Regions from separate parts of the Homo sapiens genome. Here regions 2, 3 and 4 are each linked to region 1. Evidence: promoter capture Hi-C in 16 types of primary human blood cells and fetal thymus (Javierre and others, 2016). All regions are on one chromosome and are shown on one strand. The core of a region is centred on a gene start or on the middle of the fragment in contact, and the rest is flanking DNA. Distances in the headings are between cores, read along the strand shown.

The links. The method cuts DNA at HindIII sites, captures the fragments that hold promoters and counts their contacts. A CHiCAGO score of 5 or more calls a contact.
Region 2: a fragment that was not itself captured here is called in contact with the fragment with the promoter of XPOT in region 1 in 1 of 17 cell types (total CD4 T cells); the score reaches 5.0 in total CD4 T cells.
Region 3: a fragment that was not itself captured here is called in contact with the fragment with the promoter of XPOT in region 1 in 12 of 17 cell types (monocytes, naive CD8 T cells, activated CD4 T cells and 9 more); the score reaches 7.3 in monocytes.
Region 4: a contact is called between a fragment that was not itself captured here and the fragment with the promoter of XPOT in region 1, in 3 of 17 cell types (naive CD8 T cells, megakaryocytes and non-activated CD4 T cells). The highest score is 7.1, in naive CD8 T cells.

The regions. Positions count from the first base shown.
Region 1 is chr12:64,401,169-64,407,018 of GRCh38, reverse strand. It overlaps XPOT (exportin for tRNA), which reads right to left and starts at 2,627. Exons shown (of 25, transcript NM_007235.6): 1 at 2,215-2,627. RefSeq lists enhancers at 1,029-1,905, 3,003-3,052 and silencers at 2,013-2,122, 2,453-2,612. The HindIII fragment of the contact is 10,073 bases long and covers 951-5,850 here.
Region 2 is chr12:65,178,358-65,184,207 of GRCh38, reverse strand. The region is part of intron 1 of LEMD3 (LEM domain containing 3); the gene reads right to left. Among named protein-coding and RNA genes, the nearest start is that of LEMD3, 12 kb to the right of the region's middle. The HindIII fragment of the contact is 2,224 bases long and covers 2,614-4,837 here.
Region 3 is chr12:63,799,721-63,805,570 of GRCh38, reverse strand. RXYLT1 (ribitol xylosyltransferase 1) reads right to left here. Exons shown (of 6, transcript NM_014254.3): 4 at 3,166-3,480; 5 at 167-337. Among named protein-coding and RNA genes, the nearest start is that of RXYLT1-AS1, 20 kb to the left of the region's middle. The HindIII fragment of the contact is 767 bases long and covers 2,908-3,674 here.
Region 4 is chr12:63,852,028-63,857,877 of GRCh38, reverse strand. The region is part of intron 1 of SRGAP1 (SLIT-ROBO Rho GTPase activating protein 1); the gene reads right to left. Among named protein-coding and RNA genes, the nearest start is that of SRGAP1, 10 kb to the right of the region's middle. The HindIII fragment of the contact is 232 bases long and covers 3,645-3,876 here.

The DNA.
Region 1 (5,850 bases), core at 1,378-3,877:
CATATGCCTCATAAAGTTGTAAAGGCTTCAAAGAGATAAGGTATGCAGAGCATGGCTGGCACATAGTGAGCCCTCAATACGTTGTTTATAGTCAGAGGTAGGAACATGTGGAATGGAAACGACTTGGGGCATTCTTATACCAGATCAGCATTTTTAAAAGACAGAAAAACACAAAGAAAGGCACTGGTTCCCTTCGCCCCCTAAATGTTAAGAAAATCTGATGTCCATTCCCCTGAAAAATGCCCACAGAGAGAAAAAACGATTTCGGAGTTTCTAAGAATCCCTGATTGAGAAGTCCAATAAAAGCTTCCTTGAATTTGCTATGGCTTTTTAAAAAAATGCTGGCCAGGCAGGGTGGCTCACGCCTATAATCCCAGCACTAAGGAAGGCCGAGGGGAGGGGGGCGCAGATCAACTGAGGTCGGGAGTTCGAGACCAGCCTGACCAACATGGAGAAACCCCGTCTCTACTAAAAATACAAAAATTAGCCGGGTGTGGTGGCACATGCCTGCAATCCCAGCTATTCGGGAGGCTGAGGCAGGAGAATCGCTTGAACCCGGGAGGCGGAGGTTGCAGTGAGCTGAGATGGCGCCACCGCACTCCAGCCTGGTCAACGAGAGCGAAACTCCATCTAAAAAAAATTGCTGGCTGGGCACGGTGGCTCACGCCTGTAATCCCAGCATTTTGGGAGGCCGAGGTGGGCGGATCACGAGGTCAGGAGTTCGAGACCAGCCTGACCAACACGGTGAAACGCCGTCTCTACTAAAAATACAAAAATTAGCTGGGCATGGTGGCCTGCGCCTGTAATCCCAGCTACCCAGGAGGCTGAGGCAGAAGACTCGCATGAACCCGGGAGGGGGAGGTTGCAGTGAGCGGAGATCGTGTCATTGCACTCCCGCCTGGGCGACAGAGTGAGACACTGTGTCAAAAAAAAGAAAAAGTGCTTAAGCTTGGTCAAGTCACTCTGAAGCTATCGGGAGAAAAATGAAGTGGCCCTAAGGAAAACATAGCCAATAAACCCAAGGAAACAAACTAGTTAACAGTTGTCACTACAGAAAGAATCCCCCACATAGAAGGCATTTGGACGATCAATATGCAGTGGAAGGCCGGGCGCGGTGGCTCACGCCTGTAATCCCAGCACTTTGGGAGGCTGAGGCGGGCGGATCGCGAGGTCAAGAGATCGAGACCATCCTGGCTAACACGGTGAAACTCCATCTCTACGAAAAATACAAAAAGTAGCCAGGTGTGGCGGGGCGCACCTGTAATAGAGCTACTCGGGAGGCTGAGGCTGCAGAATCACTTGAACCTGGGAGGCAGAGGTTGCAGTGAGCCGAGATGGCACCACTGCACTGCAGCCTGGGCGACCGAGCGAGACTCCGTCTCAAAACAACAACAACAAAACCCCAAAAAATGTTTCAATACGGTAAACAATTATGCATCTTGCAAAGGTTCTTGGGGGAAGGCAAGCAACATACTTAAAATATTAAGCCTTAACTTTTCCTGGATAGCCATTAAGAATCAAACAATTTGGAAAAATTCCTCTACACCTACTGAAGACTGTTTCAAATACTACGACTGAATCTTTCCAGCCTTTTAACACCACGCTGACAAGTCGGTTTAATAAAACGTAACTCTCCCCCAACCCCCGCCCGCCACAACTAATTAGCACTTTCAAAAAGTACTCGTTTTTCTGGTTACAGGGAAACCTCATGCTTCTCTAGTCCTGCAGGATGGTGAGGAAGGTTTGAGAAGAAATGGAGCGTCCGTGCTGGCCAATTACTGCACAGAAATAACACTTTTCCTTTTTGTCCAGGGGTGGGGGAAGAATCAAGTTTGAGGTCTCCACAGTTGATAACGCTACAACGATGACTAACGGGCTTCGGAACCACAGGCGATGCCGACCCTCCTCTGCTAGCCTTGCTCCCATCCCTCCCCCGATCCCTCCCCTAAAGGAAGCCTCGTGGCAATTCGGGTGATGAAACACCAAGCAACCGCCGGCCACGCACTCGGGACGCGCTCCTCGGCGGCGGCCCCGGCTCGTACCCACCCCCACCCGGTCCGCCCAGCCAGGGGGTGCACCGCCATAGAGGGTCCCAAGCCTGCACCCTCCCTGGCGTCGGGACTCCCCCGGGCCGGTCCGCCCCGGCCAACTTCCTCGAAGCCTCACGCGGACCAAACCTGGTCCCGGTCCCGCTGCCCCCGAGCCCCGAGTCACCTTCCCTATCACTCCATCCCGCCTCCCAGCCTGCACTCCAGATGGTCAGCCAGCGGAGCGGAGCGGCGCGGCACGCAGAGAGCTGGGAGAGCGGCCCTCGTCCTTGTCGCCGTAGTCCTCCGCCACGGCCGCAGCTACAACGCCAGAGACGGTGCTGGCCGGGACCGCGCGCCTCTAGTCGCTCTGCGTCCCCTGGCACCTTCTCTTGCGTGGCGCCGGGCAGGCAGGCAGGCAGGCAAGCAAGCAAGCAAGCAAGCGGGCGGGGTCGGCGCCCCAGGAAGGGAAAGAGCGCGAGGGCCGGCTAACGCCGCCGCCGCCGCCGCAGCCGCCGCCGCCGCTGAGTCAGCGCGAAGCGCGCTCCCCGCGTCGGTGCCGCGCGGGCGGGCGCCGGCGCCAGCAGTCTCTTGGAGAGTGCGGGCGGCAGCCCGCGGGCTGACGCCGGAGGCCTACAACTCCCAGCATGCAGGGAGCGGCCGGCGCTTCCGGGCGGCGAGGCGCACACGCGCTCCCTGGCGCTCGCCGGAAGGCGTGGTCACCGGGGCTTGAGGTGCATGCCGGGATGAGGCATCCGGCCCAGGAGTCCCTACCCAGCTCCTAAATCCCCGGCTGTGTCTGCGTGGTGTCAGAGCTCAAGCGTCAGGTTCGCCCCGAGCATTCCACAAAGGGCTTCTAGTAGTTGAGAGTACGGATTCACGAATCAGGATGACGTGGTTCTAACCACGTGTGAGTCAATTTAATTGCTTGTCTACGGCCCCAAGTGTCCCGAGTACAGCAGTGTAAAGCTCTGATGAGTGCTGACAGGTTTTCAAAATTAATTAATTAATTTATTTATTTATTCTTTGAGACGGAGTCTCGCTCTGTCGCCCAGGATGGGGTGCAATGGCGAGATCTTGGCTCACTGCAACCTCCGCCTCCGGGGTTCAAGCAGTTCTCCTGCATCAGCCTCCTGAGTAGCTGGGATGACAGGCGCGCGCCACCATACCCAGCTAATTTTTGTATTTTTCGTAGAGACAGGGTTGCACCATGTTGGACAGGCTGATCTCGAACTCCTGACCTCAAGTGATCACCTGCCTCGGCCTCCCAAAGTACTGGGATTACAGGCGTGAGCCACGGTGTCCGGTCCAAAATTTATTTTAAACAGACTAAAATTTTGTCCATGAAAAGAAGGAGAGCATTCTTAGGAAGTCCTACTCACGGGATCTTTCGATGCTACTAAATGTCACTTCATTTATTTGGTCACAGATTTATTAATTTATTAATGCAACATAGAGGCAGTGTAGGCTTAGGCTGCCTCGACTTGACTGCCACTCCGCCTCCTCACTAGTTGACCTCAGGCACTTTACTTTAGTCTATCCATGCTTCAGTTTACTCGTATGTAAAATGGGGATTGTTAATAGTACCGACCTCAAAGGGTTTCTGTGAGGTTTGAGTTAATACATGTGTTTGACACACAATGTGCTCAATATTTACATTTCATTGTTGATTATTCAATGTGTACTAAATACAGACTAGGTTGCTGCCACAGACTACAAACAAAACTTGGAGAGGGAGGAATGGTAAGAGCATAGAATAAAACTAATGTTTTAACAGCTACCTTTATTTAGCTGTCCAAGACACTACACCAGGCATTTCCTATATAAAATACCTTGAATCACTCTTGCATCATGTTTCTAATTTATGTGTTTAAAATGTCAGGCTAGTGGCTACAAGATGTCGCTAAAGGAGAACTGGGTTTTAATTTTTTCTTGTTTTTAGAGAAAGGGTCTCGCTCTGTTACCCAGTCTGGAGTAGAGTGGTCATAGCTCACTGCAGCCTTGACCTCCTGGGCTCAAGCAATCCTCCTGCCTCAGCCGCCCAAGGAGCTGGGACTACGGGTGCATACCATCATACCTGGCTATTTTTGTTTGTTTTTGTAGAGATGGGGACTTGCTCTGTTGCCCAGGCTGATCTCTAACTCCCAGGCTCAAATGAACCTCCCACCTCAGCTTCCCAAAGTGTTGGAATTACGAGTGTGAGTCCCTGTGTCAGGCCTTAATTTTCTTCACGCTGCTCTCAGTTGGCTTCCCAACGAAATAGGTTCTTTGTTGTTCTGGCATACAAATTTTCTTTTGATTGTAATCCTTGCATGCATTATGTTTCTACTATTCAAATTATTAATTATTCAAATTAATTATAAACAAGAAGTATCTCTTGTTTTACTTCTGAGAAAACCAAAGTCATGGTATTCTCAAGACTAGAGATAATTCAACAAAGCCTGTGAATCTCCCTCATTTGGAATCTCTCTGGGCCCAATCTGTTTTCCACTGCTAGGGCGCTGCTGCTAAAGCTATATCATATGAAACCACCCTCCCTAAAAGCTCAGGGACCATCTCCAAATAGGAGGGCGAGTGAAACTGTAAGAGCTGGATTGATGGGTGGAATCTGGAAGCTAAAGTAACTCCATCTTTGGTACTAATCTGCCATGTTGGTTTCTGATTAACCCTGTTCCCGGAAGGCCTTTAAGATTTCAAGTTGTGTGAGAGCACATACTGTAAATTCTGCCCTTACGTCAAAACAGCCTTGATGTTATTGTACTTCAGTTGTCTACACATCCTGACGTGGTTTGGCTGTGTCTCCACCCAAATCTCATCTTGAATTGTAATTCCCATAATCCCCTCATGTCATGGGCGGGATCAGGTGGAGATAATTGAATCATGGGGTTGGTTTCCCCCACCCTGTTCTCGTAATAGTGAGTTTTCATGAGATCTGATGGTTTTATAAGGGGCTTCCCCCTTTGCTGGGCACTCATTCTTCTCTCCCCTGCCACCATGTGAAGAATGATGTGTTTGCTTCCCCTTCTGCCATGATTGTAAGTTTCCTGAGGCCTCCTCAGCCCTGAGGTACTGTGAGTCAATTAAATCTCTTTCCTTTATAAATTACCCAGTCCCAGGCATTCCTTTATAGCAGTGTGAGAACAGACATAATACACATCCCTTCTGAATTACATATACCCTTTCCATATGGGGGTTAATGGTGAGGGGATCCACCATCTTGTTTCACTGCTGCTGGAGACACAGGCATGGCTTTTTTCACAAGTTGCTATGAATGTTATTTCTAAGAAAAAAAATCTCAGGCTAGGATTTCTGCCCTACCTATTTCAGTATATCTTTCGAGTCTAGCACAGTGCCAGCCTGCTAGTTTCAACTCAATAACTGAATCATTGCATGAATTCTTATATTAGCTGTGATGATCAACTGTGGAGTATGAAGGCCCAATACTAATCTTGGGCTGAGTGCCTCTGCAATCTGTATGTTCAGCATATTCCAGGCCTCATCCTAAAGAATATGGCAATTCAATCTATCGTATTATAGATGTCTTTACTTGCTGTTTTGTTTGTAAATTCATTTTATGGCTACTTCTTATGTTGAATGTTATACAAAGCCTATCTTCAGTTTATCTACAGTTTATCTACTAACATTAGCTCTTTCGTTTATGGTAGTTGAAATACCTAGAATTGTAGAAATCTCTTTCAACTTTGTAAACTCATATTATTTCAGAACAAATAAAGAGGCTAGGCGCGGTGGCTCATGCCTGTAATCCCGGCACTTTGGGAGGCTGAGGCAGATGGATCACAAGGTCAAGAGATCGAGACCAGCC
Region 2 (5,850 bases), core at 2,476-4,975, 780 kb before region 1:
TTCAAAGAAATTATTCAAATTAAATAGAACATGCTGCTAAGTATTAATCCACAATATAAAATCCTGTAAAATAACTGAAAAAATATTTACAATTCAAAGAGCATGATGAATAAGAACTTCTCAATTCTTTCTCAGAATGAAGTACTGAAACCCTTAGAAAACTTCTTCATCCAGACAAAAGTTTTACTAGACATTAGTTTTCACTTTTGCCAATAGGAGCTGAGCTTTCCCTTATCTGCCGCCACGGTCCTGTAACAGACTCAAAGAGCCATCTCTCCATTCTACATGTTTAAAGAATTGTAGAAAGCAGTTTAATGAATGGGAAATGAGGAACAAGTATAAAGGAACATTCCCAATCAGGAATATGAGCAAGGACTTAGAAGATACCACTTCCACTCTAAGCTAAGAAGTCCTTTGTGCCTAAAAATAAGGAAAAATTAAATCACAAGTCACTGGCTGAGCAGTGCCAAAACTACACCTCACCCACCTACCTGCCCAAACGCTAGTGGCAGTGCTTTAAAACAGTGCAACAGAAACAAAAAACAGGACAGCGGTTTTAGGGTCAGATTTAGCTTTAAATCCTGCTCCTCTACAGACTACCTGTTTAATCTTAGACAAATTAATATCTCCATACCTCACTGTCTATGTCTAAAATGATAACAAAACTGACATCATAGAGTTATTACAAAGATCTTCTGAAAATATTATAGAGAACACTATACATGGCACATTACAGGCATTGTAATGCTTGACTGTCATTAGGTCTCATTAAACCAATAATATAACTCCATAACTCAGAGCGGTCCAGACTTGCACTACCCAACAGGGTAGTCAACTAGCCAAATGTGGCTACTGAGCACTTGAAATATGGCTAGTCTGAATTGAGATACACCATGAATGCAAAATACATATCGGATTCTAAAGCCTTAATTCAAAAAAGAGCATAAAATATCTATCTCATCAAAAACTTTTATATTGATTATATGTCAAAATAATATTCTAGGTATACCAGATTAAATAAAATCAATTATTAAAATTAATCTCAACTTTTTTATGTTTTAACGTGGCTACTGTGTGGCTTATATTTCTACTGGACGGTTCTGGTCTAAACCATCACTGGTAACAGTTTCAAATGCAAAATGGGATGGAAATTTCATTATGTGCTTCGTATGACTTATCTAAGAGACTGAAGATCCTAATGTACTTTAAATACCTTCTAATTTAAGTACTATTAATATTCACCTATTGCCTATTCATGGGGACACATGTCATCTTCCCACTTTGATAATAACAGTACTCATGGTATCTTACAAACTAGCTGAAGAACGGCATGTGACAAGCCACCTTTCTGTATCAACTGTATGCATTGTCTGTTCTTCACACAGTATTAACAGAAGCTTACTCCAAGACCCATCCTCATTCTTAAAAAATGTTTTTCCGTCTCAAATTCAGTACTACATTTTGGATTAAAGCAATGTAACCCATTTACACTGACTTTCCTATCAGCAAATCTACCTTTTAGTGATCAGCAAGGCTACAATCCAGTTTCAAGTTGTGTCATCACCTGTTTAATATAGCTGCAAAAAAAAACCACATTATTTTTCAGTCCTGGAGATAAGGAAGGCACTAATTATGTAACGTGAAAAGATAACTCCCTTTTATCTGCTCAGACAGCTTGAAAGGTTTAAATACTGATAAGGACTATAAATTTAGCCAACTCTATTACTTATTAACATTACTGACAGGACATGTCATAATGCTGAACATGTGTTGCTTAAACTACTATAGCTGTTAAGTCCTATCTTATAATATTAAAATTACAGTTATATATCACTCCAAATTTCTCCAAAGCATTTCTACAGACATTATCACAGCAGTTCCCTACAAAAATCACTGGCTGGAAGTAAAGTTGATTTTACTATACCCTCATTTAACAGACACAAAAAGCAAGGCCCAGAGGTTGTGTTTATCTTGCTTGCCCAAATAAAGCCTGTAGCTAACGATAAGATAAAGTATAAAAAAATTCTACTGCTGCCTGGTAGTTAATACTGTGAACTCTAAAGTTAGATCTTGGGTTCAAATGCTGGCTCCAACACCTAGTAGCTGTGGGACCTTGGACAAATCACTTGTAACCTTATTCCCTCTATCTTTCCGTTTTCTCACAGACATAGTATGAGTAGTTACCCTCATGAAAATTAAAATAAAATGCTCACACACATTGAAAATTCTCAATAAATGTTTGCTCTTCTCACCTAAGGCTTTAAAATCTGAAAGACGGGACATTTAGAGATGAAATTAAAAAAAAAAAACAAAACACTTCTGTCAAAAGGATAAGAATATTTCTAGAACATCTTGAACCATAATCATAAATGTTCAGATTTTATAACATTTTCATTTTTGGCAAATTCATTCTTCATGTCTCTTCCTTTTTTAAAAATTACTCCTAAAAACCTGCAAAAAATAAAACCTACATTTATTAAAATTGTGTGGTTTTTAAAGGTAGAATTCCCAATTGAGAAAATGGTAATACAGAAAAGGTGAAAGGAATGATCAACACACATTACTTCAATTAGCCAACTATTTCTTTTGTGTATATATACACTGTGATAAGCTTTACCAGATGGTATACTCAAATTTACAGAAACTAATTTTTAAAGTATGTTTCCCAAGTCACAATATATAAATCTGATACACTGTTGCATGGTAACAAAATCCCAATTCTGAAGGCTAGCTAGTGCAGAAATATTTAGGAAAAAGAAGAGAATGCCAGCCAAAGCGTGGGGAGAGTGTCACTCCTATAGTTCTAAAAGGTATGATATATACTTATCTTCTGCCATTACCTGGTACATAGTATAGGTGCTCAATAAATAATCTGGGTGAATGCGTGACTGAATGAATAAATGAGTAGGAGAAACTTAATGTTTCTTCAAATGAACTAAATCAAACAAGAAAGCATTTGTGATCCCATGGGAGATACACTTATAAACTAAGGAAGTCCTTAATAAGGCTGACCAAGGTTCCAAGCCATAGCTCAGAGGCTAGAAGAAGTAGATATCCCAAGATTCCCCTCACCTCCTAATTAATTTCAACAATCCTCTTCATATGCTTTGAAAATTTTACCTTGGTGAATTCCTACAGAGCAAAAGCATCCTTTGTAAGTACAGCATGCTTTCAGGAATTAGCCATAGTCAGAAAATTGTGTGTGTGTGTGTGTGTGTTTGTGTACATACTCAGATATATATGAGCTAACTGAGAAACAAAATTAATTTTCTGCTATGTGCTAAAATATCCATTTGCTACTAAAGGGTTTTTTCTATTCATGTCATATTCAGGGCAGAACAGCAATTGGTGCATACTTACTACCCAATTAGTTCAGGAGAGCTGAACTACACTCTTGCATAGTTTTACAACCAAGCCTTGTTTTTAAACTTTAGCTTGCCATTTGATAGTAACATAGCTGTAAAGATGAATTCAGAAGTCATCTTGCAAAAGCATTTTAAGTAAAAAGCTGTGCAAAAGCACAGAGCAATAAATCTAGCACCCAGGAAAAATTCAGTGGTATAATTTTAAACTATACCTTGACATAAAAGAAAATGAAGACATATGAAAAGTAATTCATGATGGCTTCCATATGATAGATGCATTATTCTATTTTTAGAGATTACCTCTGTTACTATAACTTTTATAACCTTTTTGAAGAGCTAATTTCCTAAGAAATATATTTTTTAAATAATGATATTAAACATGCAAAATAAATTATTAAAACCTAACTTATTTTCTTCCTGGTAAACTCTTGTTTAAAAAAATTTTGGCAATATTGTTAATAAAGAATATTATTAACTATATATATAATATATAATATATAAACTGATGCAGTTTAAAGCATAGATTATTAAAACAGTGAAATCCAAAGGTTACTGCTCAACTATACTGTTACTGGTTCACTTTAAAATCTATGTTAGGGCAGGGCACGGTGGCGCACACCTGTAACCCCAGCACTTTGAGAGGCCGAGGCAGGTGGATTACCTGAGGTCAGGAGTTTAAGACCAGCCTGGCCAACATGGTGAAACCTCATCTCTACTAAAAAATACAAAAATTAGCCGGGCGTGGTGCCATGTGCCTGTAATCCCAGATACTTGGGAGGTGGAGGCAGGAAAATCACTTGAACCTAGGAGATGGAGGCTGCAGTGAGCCGATATTGCACCACTGCACTCCAGCCTGGGCGAGAGAACAAGATCCTGTCTCCAAAAAAATAAAAAATAAATAAAATCTATGTTAAAAATAAATCTAAATATGAAAATCAAAATCCAAAGTTATAAGCAAATAACTGTTATAACAATTTCCACAATTAGTATTAAGCTATGTTCCCATATTAAATGGCAGCAATTTTTAATGTATAATCAATACAAGATTAAAATACATCTTTTTTAAAATGTTATTTTAAGTTCTGGGATACATGTGCAGGATGTGCAGGTTTGTTACATAGGTAAACGCGTGCCATGGCAGTTTGCTGCACCTATCAACCCATCACCTAGGTATTAAGCCCAGCATGCATTAGCTATTTTTCCTGATATTCTCCCCACCCCTAGAATATATCTTCATTCGAATTTAGATTATATCATTAGTAATAAAATTTTCACAAACAAGTTAGTAGTACTTATTTATTAACAAATACATTTTGGAGAGTTCCAACAGTTTAAGGTGTCCTTCTCTTTTAAACAACTTACAAACTATATAATTATCTTTGCACTGAGGCTATAAATTTCCATTTATATAACATATTTTTCAGATAGGGAAAGTTAATATTGAATAATCAATGAGCAAGGAGAAGCAAGCTTTAAGAACTTCCCAACTCTTAGGAATCATGAAAATAATTTTTCATGATTATTTTAGTGTCCCTGAAATTATCAAATGCATCATTTCCATTAAAACATATATGAGTATAAAGGGAAAATATGAAGTTTATTCAAAAGGAGCAAAAAAGGGAGATCAAATGTATGAAAAGTTCTTTATATCCTAAAAATGAACAACAGAAAGAACAAGTTGTAATTGGTAATACAAATCAAAAGATCACTTTCCCTACCAGTTTTGAGACTGCAAATATTTTAAAAATTAGAAATAGTTTTAATATTGTATTATTGTTCTATGTATTATATATTATAGTTTGCTTCATAGCAGATGCCCCCTCCCCCTTAATTAATCTAAAACCTTAAGGATAAATAGTTCCATGTGATTCATAATTGTTGAATGAATACAACTTTTCCTAAAGTTGTTAGGTTTCATAGATTATTCCTGCCACTTCTAGGATTTTATGAATCTATACTTGTCACAGTTTTCTGAAAATAAAGACAATAATAGTAGAGAACATATATCAAGTCCTTATTTATACATATTAAAAGGCAATCTAGAAGAACAGTTAAGAGCCACTGTCTGAGTTCAAATACTGCCGCTTCACTTACTAGCTACATGACCCTGGGCGAGTTACTTCTCAGTGTCTCCATTTACTTATAAAATGGGATAAGTACCTACCTCATAAGGATTAAATAATAATTGTTTAGCTCAGTGCCTGGAACACAGTTAATGCTACGTAAGGGTTAGTTATTATTATTACTATGTGCCATGTATGAGTTTTACTTTACACACATTACTTCATTCTCATTTAACCTATTTTTCATATGAGGATATTGAGGTTTACAATGGCTAAGCAACTTGCCTTAGTGAAAAAAAGCTAGTAAGTGGAAGGGCCAATATTGAAGCCCAGGTTCTCTGATAGCTATGCCAGTGTATCCTCAAACTAGTCTCCGTGGATATATCTGTAGAGATTCACAAGTTTTTCCTCATTATTTTTAA
Region 3 (5,850 bases), core at 2,042-4,541, 600 kb after region 1:
ATGTGTACAACCCAGTCTTTTCACAGTTTTAATTACTAATGTATCTTCTGGGGAAAGATTGGTACAAATAGAGTTAACAATGCCTCTTTGGAAACCTGTGTTTCTACATAAAGCAACTCTCAGACTGGAGAACAAAATGAATGAATTAAATAAGCATAGAACTTACTGTTCTCTTGCTGAAACCCAACAAAGCTTATCGTTCCCATCTTTTTTCAAAATGTTCATTAGTGCCTGTCTGGATGAATTTTCATAAATCGTTCCTAAGAAATTACATAAATATGGCCTCTCATCATGCAGCATTGACCAACTTGCCTCCACCACAGGAAAATTCCTGTATCTATAAAAATAAATACACATGAATTAACATATGATATAGAATTGGCAAAAATTCCCCATAACCCAATCTCTTAGGTAGCAAGAAGTATACAGAAGAGGTTTAAAATGTGATTTCTAAATCTCAAATTGTAATTTTCCATGAATACTTTGGAAAACTCCCTGAATCTACTGACTTAAAAAAATTGAATTTCACACTGACATCTCTTACAAAAGTGTTACAGAGATGTTGTGCCTAAAGTTATTTGTTTTTGACATTCTTTAACTTGCATTACTCATCTGCAGCTGTTAGGCATGTTACATTCAAAACCTTCAAAGTATAAAGACTCTTCTCTATTCATAATGATCACGATTTAAGCAACATTTTAACCAGGTGATGAAAAGATTACAGAATACTCCAGGGGAGGGAGATGGATGGGGAAAAGGAAGATGTTGATCGAAGGGTATGAAGTTTCAGTTGGACAGGAGGAATAAGCTTTAGTGATCTATCACACAGAATAGGGTGACTATAATAAATAATAATGCACTGTATATTTCAAAATTGCTAAAACAGCAGATGTTATGTTTTTACCACAAAAATTGTTAAGTATATAAGGTTACGGATTTGTTAGTCTGATTTAAGCATTCTACGTTGTAAATATATTTCAAAACATCATTTGTACCCCATTATCATATACCATTACTATTTGTCAATTAAAAAAAAGGAAAGATTATATATTTTGCTATTGCAAAGGGCTCTGAAAAATTAATCCCAAGGGCTTTTCAAGTAGATTAAAACAAACTGACAGATAAAACCATGGTATGCCATACAGGAAAAGTTACCTATTTTTATGAGCATTTGGAAATACCAGGGATTAAACTGTGTACCTGAAATGTAACTTTCACACGAGAACAAAATTTTACCTAACAGTTTGTATATAACAGGGTTTCTTAGCCTCAGCATTACTGACATTTTGGGTTAATTTTTTCTTGTGGAGGCTGTCCTATACATTGTGGGGTGTTCAGCTGTATCCCTGGGCTCTATCTGCTAGATACCAGTTGTGACAACCTCTTTCCTCCAGTTGTGACAATCAAAAACGTCTCCAGGCCAGGCACAGTGGCTCATGCCTATAATCTCAGCACTGTGGGAGTCCAAGGCAGGCAGATCACTTGAGGTCAGGAATTTGAGACCAGCCTGGCCAACATGGCGAAACCCCCTCTCTATAAAAAATACAAAATTAGCCAGGAGTGGTGATGCCCACCTGTAATCCCAGCTACTTGGGAGGCTGAGGCAGGAGAATGGCTAGAACCTGGGAGGCAGAGGTTGCAGAGAGCCAAGATCGTGCCACTGAACTCCAGCTGGGGTGACAGAGCAAGACTTCGTCTCAAAAAAAAAAAAAAAAAAAAGTCTCCAGACACTGCCAAATGCCTCCCGGTGGGCAAAATTGCCCCTGGTTGAGAACCACAGACCTATATAAGAAATATACTGGCCTAGTGCAACAACATCATGATTACCAAGAGGTTCCATCTTATACTATATGAAAACATTTTACAAATGCAGGCTCTGCTCAAAAAATAGATTTTTAAGAGGGTCTTAAACCTGGCTTTACTTAACAAGAACCTTTTTGTCTGGCCTTACCCCAAACCTACTGAGTTAGGGTGTTATAGGAGTAGGCTTGGGAATACATCTCATTACTGGCACAGATGTGCCAGTGACATCTGTGTCGCTAACTAGGCAGCAGTCTAAGGCCACATCCCGCAACCAGGGACAGAATGATGAATAATGAATGTATGATTCAAAAATCATGTCAGTGAGATTTTTCATAATTTATCCACTCAACAAATACAGAATACCTACTCTGCAGGTGCTGTTTTAGGCTCTGTGGATAGAACAGTGAACAAAAGAGACAAAAATCCCTGCTCTCAGGAGGTTTATATACTAGTGGCAACTTATCTTAAAGTCAACTTGCTCTTAATTAAAAACATCCTATTAACAGAAAGATAAAAATATATGTTTTCCATTTTATAGCTGGAGAAAGACTATATCTTTTTTTTTTTTTTTTTTTTTTTTTTTTTTGGTGAGACAGTCTCATCTCACTCTGTTGCCCAGGCTAGAGTGCAGTGGTACAATCTCAGCTCAATCTCCTGGGCTTAAGTGATCCTCCCACCTCAACCTCATGAGTAGCTAGGACTAGAGGCGCCATACAGGAGTCCATGTCACCATGCCCGGATAATTTTTGATTTTTTTTTTTTTTAGAGATAGGGTTTTGCCATGTTGCCCAGGATGCTCTTGAACTCCTGGACTCGAGCAATCTGCCTAGTTGGCCTCCCAAAGTGCTGGGATTACAGGCAGTAAGCCACTGCGCCTGGCCTAAAAGACTGTATCTTGAGAAACCTTAGCTATCATTTAATTAATCCCTCCTTTTATAGAAGAGATTTGTATAAATTCAGCCAGTCTCAAACACAATGGTACGGTATATTCCTGATATAATAATATTGCCTTTTTTTACTATATATAGATACTATCATTGTTTTTAAAAAAATCTATCTGCCATTTCTCTGCTAAATATATTTTTATGGCACTCCTAATAAGCTTGAAAAATCCATTCTATGCCTTGGGGTTTTAAAAGAAAAAAAGTAACTCATCTCCTCATTAAAGAATAAAATACTCTTAAAAACATCATAATTGTTATTGAAGGATGCGACCACACCCTGTTTTTATCTCTGAGAAAGACTGTACCTGGCCTCAATAATCCCAGAAGAACTAAATTTATTACAATTTTGAATAAGTCTTCCTGGTTCAGAAATTCAGGTGTTAGGGCCTAAAAATGTTTAATCATATTTTGTACTTACGTTGCTACTCCTAAAGGCCACTGAAAAACATCCACGTCATTAATCCAGGGGCTGTCATATATTATGAAAAGCAGCTCCACGAAGCCTCCATTTCTTTTGAGGAATGGGTTTATCCACTCATTATCACAATGTTCATTTCCGAGCAAAACAACAGCAAGATGCTGGAGTTTTTGAATTTGCACTAAATTTTGTGCATAAAGTAACCACTGGGTGGCATAAAAGATCTTTGCTTTTTCTCTTCCATTTAAAATGAGTACCACATTATTCACATCAACGGAGAAGTACCCTGGTATTACAGCTGGACCAGTGATGAAGCTGTTAAAAACAACACAACAAAAACAAGAGACAAACAAAGCCTGAACAAAGGTATGTGGTATCAGAAATTCATCATTTTATACAAAATCTACAATGAGATTTAATCCACATTCTATCTAGAAGTAAAATTTCTATAATACAATCTTTTGAACAAGTTTGAATGATGGGGCATAGCTGTAGATTAATGGTAAGCTTTGGCTGTAGGCAGATCAATTTGCATATGATAATACAAAATGTGATAGTTTTGTGTTTTTTTGTTTTTTTTTTGAGGCAGGGTCTCAACTCTTGTGGCCCAGGCTGGAGTGCAGTGGTGCAATCTTGGCTCACTGCAGCCTCAACTTCCCTGGCTCAGGTGATCCTCCCACCTCAGCCTCCCGAGTAGCTGGGACTACGGGTGTGCACCACTACACACAGGTAATTTTTCGTATTTTTTTGTAGAGATGGGGTTTCACCATGTTGCCCATGCTGGTCTTGAACTCCTTGGCTGAAGCAATCCACCTACCTCAGTCTCCCAAAGTACTGGGATTACAGGCATGAACCACCATGCCTGACCTTTTTTTCTGTTGTTGTTTTAACCACACTGAAAATAAATGCTGGCTAGAATTTAAACTCTTAAGCAAAGAAATATAATTGAATAGCATGGAACTCTGTAAAATAATGGTTTAGTTCAAACCAGAAAGGCATTTAAAGTCAGTAGTTCTCAACCCTTTTATGGTGTGAGCTGCTATTACACTCTTCATCTGACTCAATGGATGAGAAAGTGCTGACAAATTAAGAAACGAAGAATGGCATTATAAACATTCCATGAATGTTATATCTCAAAAATATAATGTTAAAAAAAGCAAGGATTAGGACACTCACAAAATATACATAAACTTGAAAGTACAGTCATAAAAATTATTTACACATATATATTTAGGATCAGTATAAATATAAAAATTTGAATGGGAGGATCCACATCAAATTTATGATAGCAATTGTATCTGAGGAGGAAGGAAGATGAAAGGGACTAGAAAACAGTACAAAGGGAGCTTTACCCTTATTGAAAGTATTTAATTTTTTTAACAGGAAAATTAAATATCTGAAGCAAATATGACAGAGAGCTGAAATTTGTTAGTTTTGAATGGTGAGTAAATGGGAATGTGTTGTATTACCATTTTTTTTTTTTTTGAGACAGAGTCTCAGTCTGTTGCTCAGGCTGGAGTGCTGTGGCATGATCTCAGCTCACAGCAGCCTCTGCCTCCTGGGTTCAAGCAATTCTTGTGCCTCAGCTCCTGAGTAGCTGGGACTGCAGGTGCGTGCCACCATGCCCAACTAATTTTTGTATTTTTAGTAGAGACAGGGTTTTTGCCATGTTGGCCAGGCTGGTCTTGAACTCCTGACCTCAAGTGATTCACCTGCCTTGGCCTTCCAACGTGCTGGGATTACAGGTATGAGCCACTGTGCTCAGCCTACTCTCTTTTTAACTGTATTTTTAAAAAGTTTTCATTAAAGGAATAGACATGTATCATAACTCATTTTTTTCATATTAAGTGCTGCCTAGAACAACCAGTACCATTGAAATATTTTCACTAGTATGTATTAAATAGAACAAGTACCATTTAATTCATCTTAAAATTAGTCACTCTTATCCTAGATTCTTTACAACTTGCTTAAACCATTTCTTTATATCCTGATAGAATCTAATTTTCAGCACAAATATACCCAAAGCCTACTTTCATTGCTTCTTACTGCTGGGGATAAAAACATTTGTTCAACGCCTTTTATATACATGATACATAAGCACTTTGCATGGGTCATCATTAACCCCCCCAACAACTCTGAGGAGTTCATTATTCTCTCATTGGCATTTGTGAAATTGCACTTTAGCTGTCAGCTTGTAATGGCAATGACGAGTTCTCAACAAAGTTCTGTCTCACTTCAGAGCTTAAGTTTTTCCATAACTCCATGGTTAACAAATACTAAACAGATATTAGTTAAAGCACAAAACGTAAAAATATATTTTACTATGTGTGCATGTACCATATGATTTATATGACATTATTCTAAAATTATATAACATACAGGGACCAGGACTATGTTTTGAGGACTATGTTTGCCTTGGACAGTATCTAGCACTGGCAATGACTAATGATTCAGTGATAACCTAGTAATTTAAGACAATATGCAGAATCTGAGGGGCTAGAAAAACTAGCAATGATGATGATAATTATGGTATGTTTAAAATATTTATTATTGGTAGCATACGAATACTTTGTATTTCTCTTTTAGAAATATAAGCAGGTATAATTCTTAAGAGCATGAGAAAGTCTTCCAGTCCTCCTTCCCCATGTTAGGCCAATTTTATGAAGGAAAAAAAAGGAAATCTTG
Region 4 (5,850 bases), core at 2,511-5,010, 550 kb after region 1:
GTTGGCACTTTCACTAATTTTGTACTGGAAATTCTGCCTAGGGCAAAAATATAAGAAAAATAAATCCATAGGGCTTATAAATGAGAAAATAAAATCATCTTTATTTATAAATAATGAGTGTTTTTTTTACCAAACAAGGGAAAAAATTCTTTGAAATAGCAGACTAGCAAAGTGGCTATGTAAAAGTAAACTGCAGCCAGGCACGGTGGCTCATGCCTGTAATCCCAGCACTTTGGGAGGCCAAGGCGGGTGGATCACTTGATGTCTGGAGTTTGAGATCAGCCTGGCCAACATGGTGAAACCCTGTCTTTACTAAAAATACAAAAAAAGTTGCCAGGTATGGTGGTGCACACCTGTAATACCAGCTACTTTGGAGGCTGAGGCAGGAGAATTGCTTAAACATGGGAGGCGGAGGTTGCAGTGAGCCGAGACCATGCCACTGCACTCCAGCCTGGGTGACAGAGCAAGACTTCGTCTCAAAAAAAAAAAGTAAATTGCAGACCAGGTGTGGTGGCTCACACCTGTAATCCCAGCACTTTGGGAGGCCAAGGTGGGTGAATCATCTGAGGTCGGGAGTTCGAGACCAGCCTGGCCAACATGGAGAAATCCCATCTCTACTAAAAATACAAAATTAGCTGGGCGTGGTGGAGCATGCCTGTAATCTTAGCTACTTGGGAGGCTGAGGCAAGAGAATCGCTTGAACCCAGGAGGCGGAGGTTGCAGTGGGCCGAGATCACGCCAGTGCACTCCAGCCTGGGTAAGCGAAACTCCATCTCAAAAAAAAAAAAAGCAGTAAATTGCATTTCTGCATAATAGAAAGTAGAAAACACTCTTGAAAGAGATCTCATGAACATTAGTCATAAAAATAGCATCCTGATATAAATCTAAACAAAAATATCAAAAGCATAAAACTTTACACAAAGATATTTTAAAACAACTAAATAAATGGAGGAATACTCATATTCACAGGTAGGAAGAACTAATATATAGATGCCAATTCTTCCCTAACTGATTTATAATTTCACGCAATTCCAATCAAAATGCCAATGTGTTTTCAATGGAAGGCCAACTAATTCTAAAATTTACTTGGAAGAGAAAGGAGCAAGATCAGAAGATACTTCTGAAAAAGAAGACAGAAGGAAGATTTAGCTTACCAGACATAAAGACTTATTACAAAGCTATAGTAGTTAAGATAGTGTGATTGGTATTGGTGCAAGAATAAATTAACCAACGGAACACAATAGAGTGTCCAAAAATAGAGTTTTGCGTATGTGAAACTTTCATCAAAACAGAAGCAGCTAGCATATCATTTCTTCAAAAAGACTATTAGCACATGGAACCCAAGAAAGGTCATTTAAATGAAAAGAACTTTAACAAAATTCCTAGCTCACACAAAATAAAAAACTTCAGATGAATTAAAAACATACGCCGAAAGCAAAATTTTACAACATTTAGAAGATGACACAGACAGGTATCTTCCTGACTTTAGAGTGGGGAAGGATTATTTAAACACCAAATATAAATAATTGATACATGTGAACAGATTAAAAATGAACAACTTCTATTTATTAAGAGGATCTTTTTATTTATTTATTTATTTATTTATTTATTTATTTATTTATTTAGAGACGGAGTTTCGCTCTTGTTGCCCAGGCTGGAGTGCAATGGTGCGATCTTGGCTCATCCCCACCTCCTGGGTTGAGATGATTCTCCTGCCTCAGCCTCCCAAGGAGCTGGGATTACCAGCGCCTGCCACCATGCCCAGCTAATTTTTGTATTTTTAGTAGAGATGGCGTTTCGCCATGTTGGCCAGGCTGATCTCAAATTCCTGACCTCAGGTGATCCACCTGCCTCAGCTTCCCAAAGTGCTGGGATTACAGGCATGAGCCACCAAGCCCAGCCTAGAGGATCTTTTTAAAAGTGAAAACACAAGCTACAGACTGGGAGCAGATATTTGCAACAGATATAACTGGCAAGAGACTAACATCACGAACATACTAAAACAAAACAAAACTCACAAATCAATAAGATATACACACCTACTGTGTACCCACAAAAATTAAAAATAAAAAGGAAGAGAAAATAATTCTGGCTGGGCATGGTGGCTCACGCCTGTAATCCCAGCACTTTGGAAGGCCAAGGAGGGCAATCACTTGAGCCCAGGAGTTCAAGACCAGCCTGGGCAACATGGTGGAACTCCGTCTCTACTAAAAAATACAAAAATCAGCCGGGTGTGGTGGTGCACGCCTGTAGTCCCTACTTGGGAAGCTGAGGCATGAGAATTGCCTGAACTTGGGAGGTGGAGGTTGCAGTGAGCCATAGAGATGGTGCCACTGCACCCTAGCCTGGCTGATAGAGTGAGACTCTCCCTCAAAAAAAAAAAAAAAAAAAAAAAAAAAAAAAACACCATTTTTCATGTTGACTGCTGCTTGTTCACCAAAATCTCTTCTTTCATGCTGTGACCATCAAGTTATAATTAGAAACAGGGCCATCCAGAGAGACTATATTTCCCAGCTTCCCTTGCAGCAAGATGTGGCCATGTAACTAAGTTCCCACTGGTTAAGTAAGTGGAAATTATGTGTACTAGTAAGGGCTGGGTTTGAAAACCGTGGACATGTGCTCCTTAAGGCTGATTTTCCTTCCTACAAGCTGAAACACTGAAATACTTAAAATCTGGTTTCAAAGAGTAGACAAGTTCATTTATCTAGGTAATGGCAGAACCACAAGATGGAAGGAAACTTAATAATGGGGCAAAGATGTCCTGCTGGCCTGGATTGGACATCTCCAGTCTGTTACCCGAGAAAGAAAAAAATCTCTCTAGTTTAAAGTCACTGTTTGGGGGGTTCTCTTTATTATAACAGCTTAGCCTCTTCTTTAACTAGCACATTGCTCAATGCTAAGTGTTTTTCAGGCTGTGGAACTCTCCTCCCCTGCTAATAAGAGAAAGGTTTGACATTACCTGGTAAAGATGAACATGCACATTCCCAGTGACCCAGCAAGTACACCTAGAGAAACTCTTCTTGTACGTATACATCAGGAGACACCTACAGCATTTTATACACTATTACTATTCATGATAGCAAAAAAACTATAAATAATTCAAATGTCATATAGAATGAATCAATAGCTTGTAGTATTTTTTATGCACTGGAATATTATGCACCAGAGAAAGCACACAGTGTGGCAGTGAAATTATAGTTGCATACATTAAGGTAGATTAATCTTAACATAATAATATTGAGTATAAAATTGAAGTCATAAGAATACATATTATTAATTTTTTATTAGGGAAAATTTCAAGCATATGCAAAAATAAAGAGAATAATATAATTAACCTCGTGCACCCACGGATTATCAATTCATTTTGTATTTTATCTGTATCCCTACGTATTTCTTCCCTCCCCAAGATTACTTTCAAGAAAATCCCAGATGTCCTAATTTCATCCATTATTACTCAGCATGTATCTTTAAAAGATAAAGATTTGTTATACATGCCAAAACACTACTATTCCAATTTTTAAAATTTACACCAATTCATCAATATTATTAAAAATTCAGAAAGTGTTCAAATGGCCCTATATTCTTGATATATGAATGCATCCTAATCAAAACTATAAAGAAAGCTACAAAATGACAGTAAAGCTTTACAGAAAACAAAGGAATTATTAATACTAAGAGTGGCAGTGGGAATGAAGGGAGATTTGCTAGGAAAGGGACATTCCATGGGGGTTTCTAAGGCACTGGTAATGTTTCTTTCTTAACCTGGGTGGCTAGCACTGAAGTATTCAAAGCTACTATTCTTTAAACTGTAAATAATCATTTTCTGTACCTGTTTGTATGTATATTTCACAAAGCAAGCAAGCAAAGAAGCAAGCTTGCTCTCCCAAACACACATGCCAACTAAGCTCAAAGCAAGGAAAAACCAAAGTATATAAATGAGTTGTAAACAAATGAGAAATTTGGTTGTCCCATGGACAAATCTGATTATCAGAGGTTCAATCCAGAGGCTAAGCTTTGCTTGGATTTACCTTGCCCACTCCTGTACTCAAGGAGGGTGGAGTTGAAAGTCAGATTCTTACATTTAGCCTGAAAATTTACCAAAGGCCAGGTATACTGTGGCCCAAAGACACAGAAAGTACTAACTATACTAAATAGGAAAGTTAAGCAGAAATTCCTCCTCCCGTGCATTGCAGCTTGTTTTGCACATACACAACTCAGTGTATCCCTCATGGTGCCCATGCAAAGCAATGGTGACTGGCTCACTGTAGGTGCTCAATACTGTTAGCTCTGGTTATGATTATCTTTAATTATTATTTCACCTTCCATTTTACAGTCTTTCTTCAATTATTATAAAAACAATTAACCACATCATAAAATGTTCTTCAAAAACCAGTGGTAAAGACTGCATAACATTGCATGTATACAGTTAGTTAACAATTTACCAGTGGAATTTAGTTAACCATTCCCCACTGTTGGACATTTAGAATGTTTCCAGCTGAGTGACTTTCTAAAGAAATTATAAACCATTTGAATTCAACTTAAAATTTTGTGGTAATAGGCCGGGTGCGGTGGCTCACACCTGTAATCCCAGCACTTTGGGAGGCCGAGGTGGGTGGATCACCTGATGTCAGGAGTTCGAGACCAGCCTGGCCAACATGGTGAAACCCCGTGTCTCCTAAAAATACAAAAAATTAGCCGGGCATGGTGGCGGGTGCCTGTACTCCCAGCTACTCATGAGTCTGAGGCAGGAGAATTGCTTGAACCCAGGAAACGGAGGTTGCAGTGAGCCAAGATCTTGCCATTGCACTCCAGCCTGGGCAACAAGAGTGAAACTCCATCTCAAAAAAAAAAAAAATTTTGCGGTAATACTTGTTTGGACATCCTAGATAATTCTGAATGATCACCATGCTTATTTGCAGTATAAAGGAATTATTATTCCAAATTATTCCTCTTCTCATGTAATAAATGTTTAATGAGGCCCTGTACTAAAGCGTGTGGGAGATGCACAGACAATGATTTCTAATATCAAAGTGCTTTCTAGTGAAACAGAAGCAAATTAGCAGTCATAAGTGGAATTTTCATTCCTACATTGATTTTAAAAGAAAATACTTTTCTCAAGACTATGAGATTAAGGCAGTGACTTTATCTGATGTCATAAGAATCTTTTTCACCCACAGGTAAGTCAAATCCACTGACTGAACTACAGTTTTCATTTTCCATACAGCATCACTGAACAGAGGTAGAGACAATTTAAAACAAAAGTTATTCTTAAATACGTGGCAGCCCAGGGCCAGGAATGTGCTTTTAGGCTTTGTTACTTGCACTTGCATGAAAAATAATGACAAAATATAAAATCCACCTTATAATGAGCTGGGAATCTGTATGCATTGTCTATTCTATTTCCCTTTTAAATTCCACCATGAAACCCACTCCACTCTAAAAGCACATGGCACTCTCTTAGGATAATTCAAGATTAGTCCACTTTGGAATTCATTCTGGTAAAAAGACTAGTGATTACGTATTTGAATTTCAAAAAACCTATCTAAATCAGAATGCAACAAGATACAGCAGATAGAACAACATGCTGGGCGAGGTGGCTCATGCCTGTAATCCCAGCACTTTGGGAGGCCCAAGGCTCAAGCAGGTGGATCACTTGAGTTTGGGAGTTTGAAACCAGCCTGGGCAACATGGCCAAAACCCGTCTCTACAAAAAATACAAAAATCAGGCGTGATGGCAGGCGCCTATAGTCCCAGCTACACAGGAGGCTGAGGTGGCAGGATCACCTGAGCCTGGGGAGGTTGAGGCTGCAGTGAGCTGAGCCGAGATTGGGCCACTGTGCTCCAGCCTGA